Linked DNA regions of Homo sapiens: region 2 is linked to region 1. Evidence: promoter capture Hi-C in human tissues and cell types (Jung and others, 2019). All regions are on one chromosome and are shown on one strand. Each heading gives the region's core, a stretch centred on a gene start or on the middle of the fragment in contact. The rest is flanking DNA. Distances are from core to core; before and after follow the strand shown.

The links. The method cuts DNA at HindIII sites, captures the fragments that hold promoters and counts their contacts. A contact is called where the count stands out against the background at its distance.
Region 2: a fragment that was not itself captured here is called in contact with the fragment with the promoter of RIPPLY3 in region 1 in 2 of the 25 tissues and cell types used here (lymphoblastoid cells and mesendoderm cells).

The regions. Positions count from the first base shown.
Region 1 is chr21:37,005,423-37,008,122 of GRCh38, forward strand. RIPPLY3 (ripply transcriptional repressor 3) reads left to right here and starts at 1,280. Exons shown (of 4, transcript NM_018962.3): 1 at 1,280-1,454. The coding sequence starts at 1,351. RefSeq lists an enhancer at 621-1,121 and a silencer at 1,345-1,454. The HindIII fragment of the contact is 12,344 bases long and covers 1-2,700 here.
Region 2 is chr21:37,066,155-37,068,854 of GRCh38, forward strand. PIGP (phosphatidylinositol glycan anchor biosynthesis class P) reads right to left here. Exons shown (of 5, transcript NM_153682.3): 4 at 1,108-1,226. Among named protein-coding and RNA genes, the nearest start is that of PIGP, 5.6 kb to the right of the region's middle. The HindIII fragment of the contact is 4,734 bases long and covers 1-2,700 here.

The DNA.
Region 1 (2,700 bases), core at 30-2,529:
AGTAGAGACGGGTTTCACCATATTGGCCAGACTGATCTCGAACTCCTGACTTCAAGTGATCCATCCACCTGCCTCGGTCTCCCAAAGTGCTGGGATTACAGGTGAGAACCACCGCGCCTGGCCTAGTTCTTCGATTTTTTAACATCCATCACAGTAACTTAAATTATATAAAGTAACTACCCCTGAGGAGCCCGGGGTAGTTGAAGGCCCTCCAGCGCCTTCGGTGTTCTGTCGCAGTGCTCTACGTGTGAAACCGCTTTCTCCCACCCTGGCCGTGCGCTGGTGATGGTGGCAGCGGCGCTCCAGCGACGCCCGGGGAAGTGTCCCCAGGGTCGGGCAAGGTCGCTTCTGCTGGTCGGGAGGCCCTTTCTAAGCCTGGCTGGGGCTAACCGAAGGAGAAGCCCGCCGCTCCAGGCTTTATTAAAAATTCGCATTCTTTCCAAGGCCGCCATCGGTGGGAAGGGTGCGCTCGTAGCACCCCTCTTGCTCGGTTCCATTCCTGGCCTTCTGTCTCCTGGAAGGGTCGCCGCGCCCCACCCCACCCGCTTCGCCACGGGTTCGAGCCCTGGCGTCGGGGCGTCCGGGAGCCCACTGTCCAGCACCGAAGGCAAGGCCGGTGCACGCGGACCCGAGGATTCGGTAGATGTCCCCGAAGACCCGCTGCCGCTCTAAGGCGGTGGAAGCGAGATTCTCCGGAAACCCAGGGAATCCGATGCTCGCACAGGACCAAAGCCCGAGGCCGCGGGGACCACAGAGGGACGGAGAAGCCGGGACTCCTCACATCCCACATCCGGCAGGGGAAGCCCAGCAGGTGAGCGCAGGTCCCCCCAGTCCCCGAGGGAGTGCGCCCGACGGAAACGCCCCTAGCCCGCGGGCCTCGCTTTCCTCTCCCGGGTTCCTGGGTCACTTCCCGCTGTCTCCAGCCCGAGCTCGTGGCCCCAATCCCTGGTACCTCCATCCTCTGGTCACCCCTTCTCTGGTGCCCCCTCCCCGACTTTTCTTTGTCCCGTCCCCACCCTTGCCCGGGCCTGCCGGACCCCCCTCCTTGACACCCGGCGCCACCTCCTTGAGCTTTTCTCGTCTCCTCCCCATCCCCGGCTCCCTGGTCCCCTCCCGGAACTTCTCTGGTCCCCTCCGCTCCTCCGACCCGGGCTTTTCCTTCGTACCCTGCGGCCCCCTCCGCACCCCTCACGGAGCTCCTCGGGTCCTGCCCCCTCCCAGCGCTTGCCCGCGCCGCCCCGCCCCCGTTTTTAAACCTGGCGCGCGGGTAGGTGAGCGCGTTAGCCCGAGTGGATCTAGGCGCGCTCGTAGGCCGGCGCCGCAGCAAGGGGCGCGGGCTCCGCCGGCACCATGGAGCCCGAAGCGGCGGCCGGAGCCCGGAAGGCGCGGGGGCGCGGCTGTCACTGCCCCGGGGACGCTCCCTGGAGGCCTCCGCCACCGCGCGGGCCGGAGAGGTGAGGGTGGCCCCGCGCCCCGGTGGACGCGCTGAGAGGCGTGCGCGGTGGCGGTGCGGGGAGCGCAGCGAGCGGGAGGCTGGGGCGCTGCTGAACCCCCGATCCCCAGCGGAGCTCCGGAGCTCGACGGCGACGCCAAGCAAGCTCCTGAGCCGGCAGCCGGGTTCCCGGGAGGGGCGCTCAGTTCTCCGGTTCCAACGCACAGCTCTGAAGTGCGGAGGCCCAGGATGTAGCTGGCCAGGAAAGGGGCCGACGCTTCCGTGTAGAGGAGATCTCAGTTAGCCAGCCGGGGACACTGCAGTCTCGGGCTCCTAAGCCAGCCTTGCAAAGGCAATCTCTCACCTTGCTACTTTCTCGGTAGCCGTTTCTGTTGTCCCTGGATTGGGGGCTCGGCGTTCGCTGTCCCTGGGCACCAACCCTTTTAAAGACAGTAACGTTGTAGGAAATCAAATTAGCCAGGGAGGTAGGGAAGGGACCGGGTAGGCCGGATGGGCCAGGTAGCCAGGCAGGAGAAAGATTCCCTCTTTTTTTTTTTTTTTTTTTTTTTTTTGAGACAGGGTCTCACTGTGTCGCCCAGGCTGGAGTGCAATGGCGTGATCTCGGCTCACGGGAACCTCCGCCTCCCGGGTTCAAGCGATTTTCCTGCCTCAGCCTCCTGAGTAGCAGGGATTACACGCGCCTGCCACCACGCCCGGCTAATTTTTGTATTTTTAGTAGAGACTGGGTTTCGCCATGTTGGCCAGGCTGGTCTCGAACTCCTGACCTCGAGTGATCCAGTAACCTCAGCCTCCCAAAGTGCTGGGATTACAGGTGTGAGCCACCGCGCCCAGCCCCCTTTTTTTGTTTGTTTGTTTTTCATCCTACAACTCTGTAAAATCATCTCTGTAGAATCAATCTCCTTCCGTGACCAAGGTGGTGTGATTGAAATTAACCGGGGACAAAGTAGACAGCTATAGTTGGGGAACCCCGAATTGAACAATTCAGCCAGGATTTGCAGGGAGAGAAATCTCTCAACTAATGGGTTCCCTGATAATTGTGTGAGATTCGGGACCTCCCTTCTCAAAGCTTAACTGGAGACAGAGAACTGGGGACGTAGCAGGAGAGAAAAAACACAAATGACAGTAATTTATCCACAGCCCTGAGAACTCCAGGGAAAGTTCCTGGGGGGTCCGGTGCCTCTTTTTCAGGCAGACACTGGAACTAAGAATAGCTCTCATGGCATAGTTTGAAGGCAGCAGAAGTGCCC
Region 2 (2,700 bases), core at 63-2,562, 61 kb after region 1:
TTTCATCTCTAACTTGGAAAGAAATCAATATTTTAATCAACCATACAATGATGATTAAAGTCTCATTTGCACATTTCTCACGGGAACAGAATTATATCCAGGCCTTGAAAATGTATTTAAATCAACATGGCAAAACTATTAAATCATTTGGTATAAATATTCATGCAATCTTAACAATTTCCCCTCTTTGCACAAATTACCTATTTGCTGCCAATTCCAATCAAGAATGCATGGAATGCAGTGTATTAGAAAGACACTTAAAAATAATAGAATTGATTTTCAAAATACATTGTAGAGGCTAATATATAAAGGTTTTGAAAAGTTGAAAAATCATACCAGGGAACTTAAAAAATACTTTACTTTCTAGAATTTAAGCAAGCTCAGGAGTCTGATTTATTTTCATCTTTAGACTTGAAAGAACTTTAAAAAAATAAAACCAGACGAACGTGTTGTGGCTCTTTTATCCACTTAATTGGAATAAGGAGTACACAATGATCCTGAGGAGGATACACACCCCCAAAGTCCTTTTTCTGAACAAGGTCTGCATGTACTATTTACTATCCCTTGATCAACGGTGTCTGTTCAGGATAAGCTTCTCTCAGGCAAAGTTAATGGGAACATATTATAGACACATATAGCATATACTTGTGGTTTTTATGGGAACATACACCTGCTAACCAGTGCTATAATTAATTATAATTTATTTCCTCCATGAATATAGCTAGTGTGTATTCATCAGAACTTAATTCCTTCATGCAAATATTTCCTTTTATATAAGTTTGTATTTATTTCTCTTAGTAGCTTCTTTTTACTGTCCGTGTGTGTGTGTGTGTGTGTGTGTGTGTGTGTGTGTGTGTGTGTTTTCTTTTAGGATGGAGTTTCACTCTTGTCACCCAAGCTGGAGTACAGTGGTGGGATCTTGGCTCACTGCAACCTCTGCCTCCTGGGTTCAAGTGATTCTCCTGCCTCAGCCTCCCAAGTAGCTGGGATTACAGACGCGCACCACCAACATGGGTTTTGCAGCCTGTTCTTTGTTGCTTTTCTGGGTAAAAGTGCTAATACTCCACTCTTTCATTGCCCCAGCACTTTCCTTTTATATAAAGTTACCTGTGATTGTATGGATGGAGTCGAGTGGAGAGGTACTCATCATGTTAATCCCAAACAAGAGCACGTAGCCAATTACTATAGCAATAAGGAGGTAGACAGGTAATGCAACTGCCCAATATCTGCCAAAGAGAATATTAAAGTACATAATAGACACTTTAAAAAAGTTGTAATTCTCAAGAGTCGGTCACAAAGCCAACATGTTTTTTAAATTTAAATTTTATAAAGTAATATGTGTACATAAGAGACAAATAGTTCCACAAGGCTTACAGTGAAAAACTGCAGTCCTCTATCCCACCATCCCAACCCTGGGGTCTCACTCTCCAAAAAGAAATGCTTTGAGCACTTGAGCTGTCTTCTGGTACTTACCTCCTCATTGCTACAAAACATGCTCATATTACTATTTCCTCATTTTTTTCCATTACAGACATTTTCTCTAGGCTTCCTAATATGGAGATAAGGAATTAACCTCCTCCTATCCTCTTCTATACTTACATTGCAATTTCTCATTATAGCAGCAGGTTTTAGAAATAATTGTACCTACATAAACAATTTTGCAACTGAGGATCTTAGTACATTATTATTATATATTTTCTTGTACAACTTTTTTTTTTCTGGAATAATTACATCTTTTTGTCTGTTCACTTGGTTTCCCAGGAATCCACCAATACCAGAGCCTCAAATTCTCTGATAGGACTCTATTATGCCTCTCAGTATCATTATGTACATGGAGTGCTATTTTTCATTGAGTGTTTTTTTTTTCTTTTTGAGAAAGCATTTCCCTCTGTCACCCAGGCTGGAGTGCAACGGCATGATCACAGATCACTAGCCTCAATCTGCTGAGCTCACTTCAGCCCTGCAAGTAGCTGGGACTATAGGCACACACCACCACACCTGGCTAATTTTTAATTTTTTTGTAGAAATGGGGTCTTGAGATGTTGGCCAGATGTTTTTTTTTTTTTAAATGATTTGTTCTCTATTATTTTCTCTTTCTGGAACTTCTAATAGTTTGAATTTTTAACGATTATACTTTCTTATATTTTCATTTTTTTTTGTTCTAACTTCTAGAGATTACCTTTGTTTTATTTTCCAGTCTTTCAATTAAAATTTTAATTTTGGTTATCATGTTTACAATTTCCAAATACAGTAATTTCCTGTTTGCATAGCATTCTGTTCTTGTTTCATAGTTATAATTGTTTCTTACCTCTGAGAATTTTATGTTATTTAAATTTTTTTTTCTGTTTCCTGCATTATCTCTATTTCCTTCAAATTCCCTTTAATTTTCTGCTTTTTCATTTCATGCTAGAGGCTTTCTTTTAATGTCTGGTAACTTAGAGTAGTCCATTCATATTTAAAAATGAAGTGCTAACAAGTGAGTTGGAAGCACTATGTGTATGTGGGCAGGGATGGTCAACTGGTGAGCCTCACTCTGAGAGACTTGGCCACTTCACTGGGGTCCTCTAAATGTCAGAAATTATAGATCCTTTCTCTCGGGCTGGTCAGCTTCCTCAGGAAAGAACTATCTATCTTTTTCTGTGAGCAGTAGGGTGATATAAGCCTCGAAGCCCCAAGAGGGAAGATGGAGCAGGAGGTAAA